Linked DNA regions of Homo sapiens: all the other regions are linked to region 1. The links are contacts of gene promoters, found by promoter capture Hi-C in blood cells and fetal thymus (Javierre and others, 2016). All regions are on one chromosome and are shown on one strand. Each heading gives the region's core, a stretch centred on a gene start or on the middle of the fragment in contact. The rest is flanking DNA. Distances are from core to core; before and after follow the strand shown. Region 1 holds the start of PDZK1IP1 (PDZK1 interacting protein 1). Region 2 holds the start of FOXE3 (forkhead box E3). Region 3 overlaps CMPK1 (cytidine/uridine monophosphate kinase 1). Region 4 overlaps CMPK1 (cytidine/uridine monophosphate kinase 1).

Region 1 (3,576 bases), core at 728-3,227:
AGAAACCTGGGAGTCACCTGAAGCCCTGCCTCCTGCCTGTACCCATTCTCCCAGCTTGGCACTGTGTTCCAGCAGCCACACCCCGGCTTCTCTACCTCCTCAACAGGGCTCAGATCTGTTCCCATGGGCACTTCCTGCCCAGGTCCAGGCACTGGTGTTGTGGCCACTGTAGCAGATCCCTGGATTTCTCTTCTCCAGCCTTTGCATGCCCCTTTCACTCTCCACACTGCATGGAGAGGTGTTTTCCCAAACGCAAAACTAACCATGTGACTCTCCTCCCTAAAATTCTTGGAGAAGGCACCAGTAGATGTTTGTTAAATTCAGCCCCATTCCTTACATTCCAATCAGTGATTCTCTGGCTGTTCATTAACATGCACAGTGCTTACTCCAGTCTGTGTTAGAAGATTCTGAGGACACCAAGTTGGGTGTGGGAGGGAGGCCAGGATATACATGTTTGGGAGGCATCACTCAACTCCAAGCAAAGTTCTCCCAGATCACCTTGAGACACTCCATCTTTGGATGGCAATGGGCCCGACTGCACACGCATGTGAACACACACACACACACCCACACACACCACACACACACACACACACACACACACACACACACACACACACACACACAGGAAGCAGGCCTGAGGCATGATGTCTGAGTGCTCCCGCTGGAGCAGGAAGGCAGAATCAACCTGCCATAGGAAGGGTTGCCCAGGAGGCCTGATGAATAGGAGTTTGGTGGCTTCAGGGAAGAGAGGCTGTGGAGGTGCCTTCAGCTCAGGTGCTGGCTCCTGGGGACCTTCCATCTCTGATGAGACTTTGTTCCAGTTGGCCCGCTCCTTTCTAGGGAGTCAGCATCTCAGCTTCCCATACTTCTGGGGTGGGGGGTGGGGCAAGGAGACCAGCATGACCCTTGGTCAGGGGCTTGCACAGGAACTCTGGCCATTCTCATTCCCTGAGCTGGAGGGCCAGGTGGACACCACGTGATCCTGGGGAGGCTTTTGCCTCTTCCGAGGGCTCTGGCTCCAGGGCCTCCCTGTTCCAGGGGCTAGGTGTGCCTTCCTCAATGCTGCTTTTGGCTATGAGGGTGACGGGCCCAGGGCTTCAGGGCCCCAGATCGCACCTTGCCATCTGGGGTGTCCGTCCTTTGTCCCCCACAGCAGGCTGTGTTTGCCCATTTTCTCCTCTGCCATGGGTGGAGATGGATCTGAAGTTGGGTGTTGAAGCCTCTGACCAAGGCTGTATCTTGTTTTGAGGCCCTGCCCGGTTTCCAGGGACCACATCTGGGGCCAAGAGGAAGAACCGAACTGGGACTAGGTTAGCTGTGCTGGGTCAGGGCCTGGGCATGGGCTGTGAAAGCTGGGGACTGGGACCTTCAGGCCCTCTATTGAGATCTTTGCAGAAGGGGGTGGATTTAGGAAGCTACTGGGCTGGGCCAGGGCGTGGAAGGCACTGAAGCCGTAGTGTGTCCCAGCATTAGAGTCCCAGAGTTTAGCTTGGCGGGGCAGGGGCAGGTGGTGGGGAGAACAGGAAATAGGCCAGGCTCTCGGCGGAGTCTGGCAGCTTTGAGCCTTCTCTGGGCTTCTGGGGTTTTCCCCAGGCTCCTGAGCCAGCCAGGACATTTCTTAATCCCACTGTCAGCCTTCCAAGAAGCCCCGCCCACTGGGCTCAGTCAAGGCAGGAGCGACTGTGTGTCACCCCTTTCCCTAGAATCCAGCCCCACTGCCAGGAAAAGGGAGCTCAGGGCATGGAGGTGAGGCTGGGACTCTCCCACATCTGCTTGTTCCTCATACCCACCTCCTTAGCTGGCCCCTGGAAGATGACCTCGAATGCCAGCCCAAGTGAGCTGGGCACCAGCCAGGGGAGGCCAGGTCTGGCAGCTCATTACCATGGGAGGGAGGGCACGTTCTCTCCGACGCCCGTCTTCGTGTCTCCTCCCTCCCTCGCCTTCCTCCTTCCTAGCTCCTCTCCTCCAGGGCCAGACTGAGCCCAGGTTGATTTCAGGCGGACACCAATAGACTCCACAGCAGCTCCAGGAGCCCAGACACCGGCGGCCAGAAGCAAGGCTAGGAGCTGCTGCAGCCATGTCGGCCCTCAGCCTCCTCATTCTGGGCCTGCTCACGGCAGTGCCACCTGCCAGCTGTCAGCAAGGTAGCTCAGGAGGAGAGGGCTGGGCACGGGAGACCCAGGGGTGGACAGGTGGTGTTCTGGCTCCCCTCCCCAGGGCCTTGATACTTACAGTTTGGAGGGGGAGCAGGGACTGCGCTAGCTGAAAGAATGTCCCAAGGCAGAGACCTCTGAACCAAGTCTCTGCCTGTCACTTGTTTTCAACGAGTGAAAACTGGCAGCAGTTGGTTCTAGGATCTCAGGGAGGAACAGGATTTGAGGCCCAAGCCCCAAGAGCAGGCATTGCCCAAGGGATGGCTGGGTCCTGAGTACAGGGGACCCGGGGGTACAAGTAGGGTGAGAGTGGGGCCCAAGCCACCCCTCAAAGACTTGGGCTTTGTCTCGGCCTCTTGGGCTTGGATAGAGAACAGTGCCCAGTGTGACTCCCCCAAATATCTGACCTCTTCGTCCTGCTCTGCCTGAATGGATGTGTGACCTTGAGCAAATCACTGCCCCTTCCTGAGACTCAGTTTTCTCACCTATAAAATGAGAACAATAAACCCCACCCTGCCCACCTCCCAGGGCTGCTGCCAGGTCAGAGGTGAAGAAGGGCTTTGCACCTGGTGAAGTAACTAACCCAAGGTCTGGCTTTCATTCTACACTGTCAGGCTGCATCTGCAGCCAAAGTCTGGGGACTCTGCAGGTGGGACTTGGTCCAGAGGGGACTGGCAAAGATGCTTTCAGAGCTCCCCTCCCACCCCCACCCCGAGCTCTTATGTGTGTCTGCTTCAACTCTGTCTCCCAGGTCTTGGAAGCCCTCTGGGGAACTGCAGACCAGAGAGGTTGAGTCACAGAGCACGGCAAGAAAGGACAGGGTTCAGACCACCTTTCTCCTGCCCCAGACACTGCCCCTTGCTGTATGTGCATGGGAGGAGGAGCAGGGACTGTGGTCCCTGGGGTGACTGGAGAGAATTGGCTGCAGGGTCTAGGAGGAAACAGGGAGGGGCCTCCAAGGGTTGAGCCCTAACTCCCCATGCTTGAGCAACCACTGACCTGAGGGAGCAGTCTGAACCCCTAGGGAAACAATGACTCCCAAATACTGCTTTTTGGCAGGTGTGGAACTGAGGGTAATCACACTGTGTGTCTTCTGCTTCCCCTGGAGATAAGTGAGGTCTGACCTCACTACAGGCCAGAGAGTTCCTAGCCTCCTTCCTCCTTCCCAATATTTGCCAGGCTCGGAGAAGAGGTCAGGCCTCCACTGCAGCAGGAGAGCTTTTGGTAGACTCAAAGGAGGACATTTGAGCAGGAGTGAGCCAGAGGAAGGTTTTCTCATGTCCAGCTTGGGTCCCTCAAAATATAGGGATGCAGGTATATTCTGGCCTGGAGGCAGGACCCCTCTGAAGCCCCCTGCTGACCTGTGTTTTGTCCTGGGACTTCTCCCCGCTGAGGGTCTTTTCTCTACAAGGCTGAGCTC
Region 2 (3,576 bases), core at 459-2,958, 230 kb before region 1:
CAATAAGTCCTAAGTTTTCCAGGGGATGGGGCAGACCTAAAGGCCCACCAACTCCCCTTTCAGTCAGGAGCCCTGGTGCTGCCTGTCTGAAATCTCCAAGAAGTGTCCTCAGGGCGTGAAGAAGGCAGCCAGGTGTGTCTACGTGAAAGGGGGGCTCTCTCCCAGGAAGAAGCTGAGGGCAGACAGGTAAGTGGAGGTGGGGGGCAAACTTGTGGGAAAATGAAGGGACGCTAGCAAGTAAGTCATGAACCCAGGAGTCTGACCCAGGAGTGTCGGAAAAACATGAGAGAAGGTTGATGAAGTACAGTCGGTGGAGGAGGCGGCTTGGGATCACAGATCTGGCTTCCAAAGGCTTGGAACTCACCAGGAAACCTGGGGTATGGACTCACTGGAGGCGAGTCAGCTCCGGGGCAAGGGACCCACAGACAGCGCTGGGGTGGGGGGCGCCGCAAAGCTGGGGGCGCTCACAAGTGGAGGGAGAAGAAATGAGAGGCTGGCAGGTCAAAGGGGACGCTTCTGTCCAGTGGCGAGATGGTGGGAGCCTCCCCAGGGATGGGGGACGGAGAAGGATGTAGCAGGAGTTTGAGTCCAGGAGGCCACGACGAGAGGCGCAGGGTGTGCTCCAAGCCAGGGTGGGGGGTAGAGATGGGGCGCTCGAGGGCGGCGCCGCAGGTCCGGGGCACAGGTCGCACAGGTGCCTGCCCGCGCGGCGCAGGCTCACAGGTAGCGCTCCAGCCCCGACGCGAAGCCCGGCTGCCTCAGGTAGGCCTCCCCAGGGCTGAGCGGGCCGAGAGCGGCTGCCGGCCCGGCCAAGGCCAGGAGGGGCTCAGCGGGCAGCGGGCCGGGGCCGGGGCGCGTCGCGGGCAGTACCAGGCGGTCGGGGACCTGCGAGTAGAGTGGCGGGGAGGCGGCGGCAGCGCAGGGCGGGAAGGCTGCGGCTGCGGCGTCGGGCGCGGCGCAGCAGGGCGGCTCGGGGGCGCCCAGCCCCGCTAGCTCCGGCTGCAGGTTCACCAGGCTGTCGACGCTGAACAGACGCGCGGGCGGCGAGGGGCCCGGTCCGGCAGAAGGCGGCGGCACCAGCAGCGCGGGGCCGGGCGCGGGCGCGTAGGGCGCGTAGGGGAAGGGGAGCGGCGGCCCTGGCGCCGCGGCCGCGTGCGCGGGCAGCTCGGCGCGCTTGAAGCGCTTGCGGCGCCGCAGGAAGCTGCCGTTGTCGAACATGTCTGCGGCCGCGGGGTCCAGCGTCCAGTAGTTGCCCTTGCCCGGGTTGCCCGGCTCGCGGGGCACCTTGACGAAGCAGTCGTTGAGCGTGAGATTGTGGCGGATGCTGTTCTGCCACTTGCGCGGGCTGTCGCGGTAGAAGGCAAAGCGTTCGGTGATGAAGCGGTAGATGGCGGCCAGCGTGAGGCGGCGGCCCGGGGCGTGCGCCAGAGCCATGGCGATGAGCGCGATGTACGAGTAGGGCGGCTTCCCGCGCTGCAGGGGCCGCCGCCGCCGCCGCCCCGGGCCGGGCGCGGGCGTGGGGGCCGCCTCTCCGCGGCCAGCCGCCGCCTCCTCTGGCTCCCGCCCTGGCTCGGCTCCTGCGAGCGGCGACGGCGGCGGCCCCGACGGCGCGACCGCTGGCAGGGCAGGGAAGCCAGAGAACGCGGCGGGCGGATCCATGTCGCTGCGCCCCGCCATCGGCTGCGGCAGCCCCTGCCCGCGCGGCTCCGGGACCGCAGGGGCCGCCGACCCGCTTTATATGGACACGGCCCCCCCCCAACCACCGCCGGGGGAGAGGGCTCAGGCCTTGCCTGCTGGCCAGCGCCTCCCCTCTAATTTCCTCTCCCAGCCCCCTTACTCTGTTCACGGTACCCTCCTCCATTTCGCCCCTCCCTTTCTGCCTTTGGATCAGTTTTTCCCAGACCCAGACTCACCCCTTCCCCATCTCGGTTATATCAGCCCCTGGCCCCATCCCACTGTATTTGGTCAGTCCCCTTCCCTTTCCACCCCTCCTTCTACCCCCTCTCCTTTGGATCATTCCCAATCACAAATCCACCCATTCACTCTCCCAGCCCCCTCCCCATTTTGCTCCTCCCCATTTTGCTCCTCCCAGTAGTCGGTCCCCCCATCCTTCTCCTGGCCTTCCATCCCCAGCTGGAACAGAGATGAAGGCCGCCTTGCCAGCCCTCAGTATCCTGATGGGGAGGTGTCAGGCCCACTCACAGACATTAGGGAACCTGGGCCAAGGTAATGAAGCAGCGGGGCAGGGCAGAGCCAGGCCGGTTTTGTCTCTGGGAGAATGTTTGACTGCTCCAGATCAGGGTCACCATCTTGCCTCTCTGCCACCCCCCTCCCCCATACCCCTGTCATGCCCTCCCTCCAGGCCTTGAGAGCATTCTCTGAAAAAACAGAATTGTGGAAAGTGGTGCGGCCGCTTTAAATGAAGAGCCCCCAGGAAATCCACAACTTGGAGCTGCCTTTCTGGCTGCCTCCTCTCCACACCCCCCTGTTAAAGAAAACAGCTTTTCTTCACATACACACACACACACATACACCCACACACACAGTACAAAATGTAGGCTTCCACAGACTGGGGGTCTGAAAAAGCCGCCTTCTGACCCAGAAACACCACACTCACATCTCACTGGGGATGGGGGGTCTTTGGCAGTGTTTGTTAAAAACTCAGTCTGAGAAGTTCCACCCACAACTGGCATCCAGGGGGATGCAGCACCCAGCCTATTTTGGGAAACTTCTTCTCCCAAGAGACAGGAGACCCATCCCCAGCTCCAAGGGAACTACAGGGTGAAGGAGCCTTGTCTTAAAGTGGGTTGTCCTGGGGACAGGCAGATCAAGGGACTTGGACATGGAGCAGGGCTGGAAGGACAGTGAGCCCACTGAGGTGCCTGAGGTGCTGAGTTTAAGGGGAGCTCAGTCTCAGGGCCTTGCAAGTGCAGTCAGCACTTGAGAGCCAGGGCCTCCTTACATTTGGGGCATCTCACTTGCCCCATCCTAGTCCCCCAGCCATGCTATAGAGTGTCCCTAGGTATAGGTGACCAAAGCTAGTTACAGCAGGCCTGTAAACTCCAAACTCAAAATCCAGTTCAAAATCCAAACTCAAAGCATGGAGCTCAAGGGCCCCTCTCTCAGCTCCAGTCTCAGCTGATGACATCACAGCCACCATTACTGAGCATTTTGTATTTGGTAAACACTTTATGTACATTATTGCACTTAAGTTTGGGCACCCCGTGAAGTGAGTACTGTTATTATTCCTGTTTTGCAAATGAGGAAACTAAGGTTCTGAGAGGTTAAGTGGTTTCCCTGACTTCACACAGCTAGTAGTAAGTGGTAGAGCTGGAATTAAATGTGAAGTTCAAAGCTCTAGCACCCCACTCTTCTAAGAATGCCATCCTTTAAGGCTGAGCTGAGACATTAGAAATAATCAGAGTATTTCCAGCTCCCACAACTTCAGCTGCCAAAGTAGATTCTTAGCTTCTCTCCTCACCTCCTGGTCAGCATATCTAGGTGCCCATTGGGCATAACCACATGGATATTTCAAGGTATCTCAAACCCAAATGTCCTAAATGAAATGCATCTCTT
Region 3 (3,576 bases), core at 763-3,262, 180 kb before region 1:
CTAAATAATAAGTTAACGGTAAGGTAGTCAGCAAATGAAAAGAAAACTCTAAATAGTTTATTTGCTGACTATAATTGAGTATAAAGTTTGATGAGAATAAACAAGATCCTAATATCATCCATGTCTCTCTGTCATATAGGACCTTCCATTAGAAGAAATGGTCAGGCTGGGCAAGGTAGATCATGCTTGTAATCCTAGCACTTTGGGAGGCTGATGCAGAAGGATGGCTTGAGCCCAGGAGTTCAAGACCAGCCTAAGCAACACAGACCTCATCTCTATTAAACTTTTTTTTTAAAAGAAAGAAAAAAAGGCTGGGTGCGGTGGCTCACACCTATAATCCCAGCACTTTGGGAGGCCAAGGCGGGTGGATCACCTGAGGTCAGGAGTTTGAGACCAGCCTGGCCAACATGGCGAAACCCTGTCTCTACTAAAAATACAAAAAATTAGCCAGGTGTGGTTGCAGGTGCCTGTAATCCCAGCTACTCAGGAGGCTGAGGCAGGAGAATCACTTGAACTCAGGCAGCAGAAGTTGCAGTGAGCCAAGATCACACCACTGCACTCCAGCCTGGGTGACAGAGTGAGACTCCATCTCAAATAAAAATAATTATTATTATTATACAGTTTGTCAAAAAGAAAAAACAACCTTACCTGCAAAGTCCAAGGAAACAAAGAATTCAAATGAATATAAAGATGTCAAACCTATACACATGTGTCTCATGTTCTCACCCACATTCCATTTTTGTAAATTCTCTATTTACCAGTTTTTTATACTATATTTTTCTTAAGGATTTTGCTAATAATGCTTTCCTCTTACCACAGTTGCAGCAACAACAAAAAAGCAACTATCACTTACATATAAGTTATTATGGTATTTTAGTAACAGCTAGACTTTAAAGAGCATATTTTCAAAGCATTCTGCTGTCATTAAGTAATCACTGAAGCCAGTTTTGAGGAAAGCAAGAATAGATATTTTCCAGTCTTAACCAAAACTTTTTCACATTCTCTGAAATTTCCTTGCAATTAAAACTTAGTGGGTAACTAACAACAGTCTTAAAAGCAACACTCAAAACCATAGCAACTTACAAATACTATAACTACAATTACAAGCTACTATTGAACTAAAAATCGTGGCTTTTTGTTGTTGTTGTTCAGACAGGGTCTTGCTCTGTCGCCTAGGCTGGAGCACCATCTCTGCTCACTGCAACCTCTGCTTCCCAGGTTCAAGCAATTCGCGTGCCTCAGCCTCCCAAGCAGCTGGGATTACAGGCGTGCACCACCATGCCTGGCTAATTTCTGTATTTTCAGTAGAGATGGGGTTTTACCATGTTGGCCAGGCTGGTCTCGAACTCCTAACCTCAGGTGATCTACCCACCTCGGCCTCCCAAAGTGCTGGGATTACAGGCATGAGCCACCATGCCTGACCTAAAGATAGTAATTTTCTAGTGACAAATATATAAACTCAATTCATTTAGAATAAGTGCCTAAAATTTTAACTGAAATTTTTCCTTTAAGAAGTTGAAAAACAATTCAATAACCTTTACGGATCATGCACTAAGATTTGGAGGGAGAAAAAAGCACCATGTTCACAACAAGTACAAAATGGTACTCTATTTTACTACAACTAGGCAAATGTTGACAACTTTATGGGGTCAAATATCAAACCATCTTGTTCAATTTCTCTCACTTTTTTTTTTTTTTTTTGAGACAGGGTCTCACTCTGTCACCCAGATTGGAGTGCAGTGGCACGATCTCAGCTCACTATAACCTCCACCTCCTAGGCTTAAGCAATTCTCCCACCTCAGCCTCCCGAGTAGCTGGGACTAGTGGTACATGCCACTGCATCCAGCTAATTTTTGTACTTTTTGTAGAGATGGGGTTTTGCCATGTTACCCAGGCTGGTCTCAAACTCCTGGGCTCAAGCAATCCACCTGCCTCAGCTTCTCAAAGTGCTGAGATTACAGGCATGAGCCATCCCAACTGGCCTAACTTATCTCATTTCTTAGCAACTGCATCTCTCCTAAATTCAGAAAACAACGAAAACACAAGACAAAAAAAAAAAAAAAGATCTTCAGGGTACAAATGATGCACAAATGGCAAGTCTTTGAAGGCAGGAAGAGATCCAGATGCCAGGCACTTCCTCCCATTAATGTGGCAATTAGAAATTGCCACTGAACTGCTACTGAGCTTCTCTTGCATTATAGAGGGAACATAGCAGAGATATTAAATACAAATGTATTTTTAAAGCAACTGAAGTGAATTAAAACTATTGGGTACGGCCAGGTACAGTGGCTCACACCTGTAATTCTAGCACTTTGGGAAGCCAAGGTGAGAGGATTGCTTGAGGTCAGACGCTCAAGACCAGCATGCGCAACACAGTGAACATGTTTCTACAAAAAATAAAAACATTTGCTGGGCAAGGCTATGTGCACCTGTAGTCCCAGCTACTTAGGAGTTTGAGGCAGGAGGAAAACTTGAGCCCAGGATGTAGTGAGCTATGATCATGCCACTGCCCTCCAGCCTGGGAGACAGAGCAAGACTCTGTCTCTAAAAAACAAAACAAAACATATATAAATTCACATAATGTATAATATATAAATTACATTTTCATATATTATATATTATACAATTTATATCATAACTTATGGCATATAATATATAAAATTTATATGTAATATAGTATATAATTTATATTATTATATATTAAAAATATAAATATATGGCTGGGCATGGTGGCTCACACCTATAATCCCAGCACTTTGGGAGGCTGAGGCGGGTGGATCACCAGGTCAGGAGATCAAGACCATCCTGGCTAACATGGTGAAACCCCCGTCTCTACTAAAAATACAAAAAATTAGCCAGGCGTGGTGGCAGGCGCCTGTAGTCCTGCTACTTGGGAGGCTGAGGCAGGAGAATGGCGTGAACCCGGGAGGCGGAGCTTGCAGTGAGCTGAGATTGCGCCACTGCACGCCAGCCTGGGTGACAGAGCAAGACTGTCTCAAACAAACAAACAAAAAAACCAAACCAAAACAAAACAAACAAACAAAAAATATATATATAAAACTATTAGGCGTCCTTTAGATTTACATCTATGAAGCATCGAAGACTAAGGTTATGTTGCATTCTCCATAAGACTACTAAACCTTAGAATCTTTTTTTTTCTTTTGGCCATGAACCCATATCTAAAGGCAGATCCTTAAAATCTAAATGCTGGTTATGTGCTGTCAACAATCCACCTTCACCCAAACACCCCAAAATGCTGCAGGTACTATGGGGGGAGGTCATCCAGATGCACCAGTCTGGTACCTGCTGCAAACAACAGCTTTAGAGCCCACAACATCCCAGCAACACTTTATGTAAGTCTATTATCTGTTTCAAAACATTTTTTTTCCTTTTAGACGGAATCTCGGTCGATCACCTAGCCTGGAGTGCAGTGGCGCAATCCTGGCTCACTGCAACCTCTGCCTCCCAGGTTCAAGCGATTCTCCTGCCTCAACGTCCCGAGGAGCTGGGACTATAGGTGCCCGCCACCACACCTGGCTAATATTTGTATTTTTAGCAGAGATGGGGTTTCACCAT
Region 4 (3,576 bases), core at 789-3,288, 150 kb before region 1:
CTTTCTTAAAAAAGAAAAAATTTGCCAGGCATGGTAGATCATACCTGTAATCCCAACACTTTGGGAGGCTGAGGCGGGCGGATCACCTGAGGTCAGGAGTCCGAGACCAGCCTGACCAACATGGAGAAACCCCGTCTCTACTAAAAATACAAAATTAGCCGGGCATGGTGGCGCATGCCTGTAATCCCAACTACTCAGGAGGCTGAGGCAGGAGAATCGCTTGAACCCAGGAGGCAGAGGTTGTGGTGAGCCAAGATCGTGCCACTGCACTCTAGCCTGGGCAACTCAAACTCTGCCTCGAAAAAAAAAAAATTATTATTCCACCAGAAGGAAAGAAGCATATTCTTAAACACTGGACCTTAATATCCAGTGGATTTTCCTATCTAGTTTCTTCTGAATGCTGCTCTGTTTGAGAATTTGTAATGAGGAGCTTGGAAATCTGCTCAGCAGATTTTCACAACCATATCATTGATTCATTCATTGAGAGTAAACAAAAGTGTTACATGAGAAATCTGAGGAAGACAGGCTGGGTACGCTGGCTTACGATGCAATCCCAGCACTTTGGAGACTGAGGTGGGAGGATCGTTTGAATCCAGGAGTTTGAGACTAGCCTGTGCAACATAGGGAGACCCCATTTCTCTTTTTTTTTTTTTTGAGACGGAGTCTTGCTCTGGGGAGACCCCATTTCTACAAAATAAAAAAAATTAGCTGGGCATGGTGGCATGCACCTGTAGACCTAGCAACTTGGGAGGCTGAGGTGGAAAGATCAGTTGAGCCTGGGAGGTGGAGGCTGCAGTGAGAATGAGCCACGATTGTGCCACTGCACTGCAGCCTGGGCAACAGAGGGAGAGCTCATCTCAAATAAATAAATAAATAAATAGGAAAGAAAGGGAAAGGGGAGGGGAGGGGAGGGGAGGGGAGGGAAGGGAAGGGGAGGGGAGGGAAGAGGGCAGCCGGATGCGGTGGCTCACGCTTGTAATTCCAGCACTTTGGGAGGCTGAGGCAGGCGGATCACCTGAAGTCAGGAGTTTGAGACCAGCCTGGCCATTATGGTGAAACCCCATCTCTACTAAAAATACAAAAATTAGCCACGCGTTGTGGTGGGTGCCTGTAATTGCAGCTACTCAGGAGGCTGAGGGAGGAGAATCGCTTGAACCCGGGAAGCGGAGGCTGCGGTGAGCCGAGATCATGCCACTGCACTCCCGTCTGGGCGACAGAGTAAGGCTCTGTCTTAAAAAAAAAAAAAAAAAAAAAAAAGGAAAGGAAGAAAGAAAAAGAAATCAGAGGAAGACATTCAAACACTTCTGGTCCTTAAAATGGGAGAGCCAACTGCCACTGGAGCGCCCTCTGGGGATCGAATTTTTAAAAATTTTACATCTTCAGGACAAACAATAAACTCTATGAATCCAACGTATTCAACTTATAATTCAATAAGTGCTTAATAAGCAGTTACTATGTGTCAGGCACAATGTTCAACACTGGGGACACAAAGATAAATGAAATCAAGTTTCTGATTTATATATGCTTAAAGTCAATTATCATCCAAAACTTTTTCTAAGTGCAGTAAGTAGGATGGCCAGGCAAAGTAAGAGTTACCCACACAGGCCCTGGAGGAAGTTGACACAGATGATAAAATGCTTCTTGGGTGAGGCCAGGCGCAAAGGCTCATGCCTGTAATCTCAGTACTTTAGGAAGCTGAGGCAGGTGGATCACCTGAGGTCAGAAGTTCGAGACCAGCCTGGCCAACATGGCATTCATGGTGGCATGTGTCTGTAGTCCCAGCTACTTGGGAGGCTGAGGCAGGAGAATCTCTTGAACCCAGGAGGCGGAGGTTGCAGTGAGCTGAGGTCACACCACTGTACTTCAGCCTGGGCAACAGAGTGAGACCCTCTCTCAAAAAAAAAAAAAAAAGTTTTCTGGGTGCTACAGAAAGCAATTTGGCATGGTTATAAGCTTTAGTCATAATTTGTTTATGTAAGCAAAATGTTCACAATCTTTAAAAGAGAGGTTTAAATATTTCTTCCAACTAATGCATGTAAAATGGTGGTTATTTTCAAATATAAATTTAGGTTACATTGACATAATTTCATTTGGGCCAAAACAACAAATATAAATAAAGCTTAATTTTAAAAATTCAAGAATGACACAGTATTCCCATCATGATTTTATAACTAAATTATTGCACAATAATTCCATTCTGGAAACTTAACTCTAAGTATCACACTGATTTAGAAAATAGCTCATTTTCAAAAACAAATTCAGTATTAGAGGATACAGATTTACAAACAATTAGAAAATAAAACAAATTCTCCAAGTCTGGGTATTTGGTAAAAAAAAAAGAAAAGAAGAAAAAGAAAGAACAGGAAGGAGGGAGGGAGGGAAGGAGAGAGGGAGGGAGGGAAGGAGAGAGGGAGGGAGGGAAGGAGAGAGGGAGGGAGGGAGGGAAGGAAGGAAGGAAGGAGAAAAGCAAACAAAACTGAAAAACATCAGTACAAATAAATGTGCAAAATCAATCCCAAAACCTCCCTCCAATCTTTCCTTCCCAGTACAGAACACTCTCAGAAGACACTGTATCAGATTTGCCTTTACCTTCTCTAGGTCTCCAGGAGCAATTTGCAGAGCAGAATTCACCTCCAGAGAAAAAATACCAGCTTCCCTCTAACAATACCCACTTCACTAATTTCAGTGCCTTAGAGAGCAAGATATCCCTAAGGGTTTTTGGTTTTCTCTTTTTCTTCTCTTCCTGTCAACTGAAGATTCTGTAGCTAGGACTCAAATATGTACTTCTGGCAGCCTGAGTTGGAAATCAACATACTAAAGTAACAATTTCAGGTGCCCTGTGAGCTGCATTAGCTTCAGCCAGATTAATTGGAGAATTTACCGTGGATTTATGTAATTTTTTTCCTACAGGAAAAAAACCTCCAAAACTTACATTATTTTGGAATTTAGTTTATAATTGCCTGTATAAAAAAATATTGAGTCAAAATAAAGAGATTCACAAAGGAAAAAAACAACATACCGCTGACTTCACTAACAATAGATATTCCAGGCCGGGCACAGTGGCTCACACCTGTAATCCCAGCACTTTGGGAGGCCAAGGTGGGTGGATCACGAGGTCAGGAGTTCGAGACCAGCCTGGCCAACATAGTGAAACCCCGTCTCTACTAAAAATACAAAAATTAGCCGGGCATGGTGGCGCGCACCTGTAGTCCAAGCTACTCGGGAGGCTGAGGCAGAGAATCGCTTGAATCCAGAAGATGGAGGCTGCAGCGAGCCAAGATTGCCCCACTGCACACCAGCCTGGCCGACAGCGTGACACTTCGTCTCAAAAAAAAAAAAAAAATAGATATTCCAGTGTCTGTCTAGCCAGCTAGGGAATAGCAATTGCTAAATTATAAACTATTTGGAATTAGTTGATTGACAGCTTAATAAAGTTTATGGCAACTAGACTCAAGAGAATACTTTTCATTAAAGAAGATAACAGTTTAAGGTCAAATAATTGTTGAAATCTTAATAATATAATACATTACAGAACATATCTCATCATGGAATCTTGTAACTGATAATTAACAAGTT

Evidence for each region. Contacts are between HindIII fragments. The CHiCAGO score rates a contact against its expected background, and 5 or more counts as called.
Region 2: the fragment with the promoter of FOXE3 here is called in contact with the fragment with the promoter of PDZK1IP1 in region 1 in 7 of 17 cell types (total CD4 T cells, activated CD4 T cells, endothelial precursors and 4 more); the score reaches 7.5 in total CD4 T cells.
Region 3: a fragment that was not itself captured here is called in contact with the fragment with the promoter of PDZK1IP1 in region 1 in 1 of 17 cell types (endothelial precursors); the score reaches 5.2 in endothelial precursors.
Region 4: a fragment that was not itself captured here is called in contact with the fragment with the promoter of PDZK1IP1 in region 1 in 2 of 17 cell types (megakaryocytes and erythroblasts); the score reaches 9.4 in megakaryocytes.

What each region holds. Positions count from the first base shown.
Region 1 is chr1:47,188,437-47,192,012 of GRCh38, reverse strand. It overlaps PDZK1IP1 (PDZK1 interacting protein 1), which reads left to right and starts at 1,977. Exons shown (of 4, transcript NM_005764.4): 1 at 1,977-2,147. The coding sequence starts at 2,081. RefSeq lists an enhancer at 1-572 and a silencer at 1,402-1,696. The HindIII fragment of the contact is 10,710 bases long and covers 1-3,576 here.
Region 2 is chr1:47,414,417-47,417,992 of GRCh38, reverse strand. It overlaps FOXE3 (forkhead box E3), which reads right to left and starts at 1,708. Exons shown (of 1, transcript NM_012186.3): 1 at 1-1,708. The coding sequence starts at 1,677. The coding sequence ends at 718. The region is part of intron 1 of LINC01389 (long intergenic non-protein coding RNA 1389); the gene reads left to right. The HindIII fragment of the contact is 18,012 bases long and covers 1-3,576 here.
Region 3 is chr1:47,363,759-47,367,334 of GRCh38, reverse strand. All of the region lies in intron 1 of CMPK1 (cytidine/uridine monophosphate kinase 1), which reads right to left. Among named protein-coding and RNA genes, the nearest start is that of CMPK1, 32 kb to the right of the region's middle. The HindIII fragment of the contact is 4,857 bases long and covers 1-3,576 here.
Region 4 is chr1:47,337,383-47,340,958 of GRCh38, reverse strand. All of the region lies in intron 1 of CMPK1 (cytidine/uridine monophosphate kinase 1), which reads right to left. Among named protein-coding and RNA genes, the nearest start is that of CMPK1, 5.4 kb to the right of the region's middle. The HindIII fragment of the contact is 166 bases long and covers 1,956-2,121 here.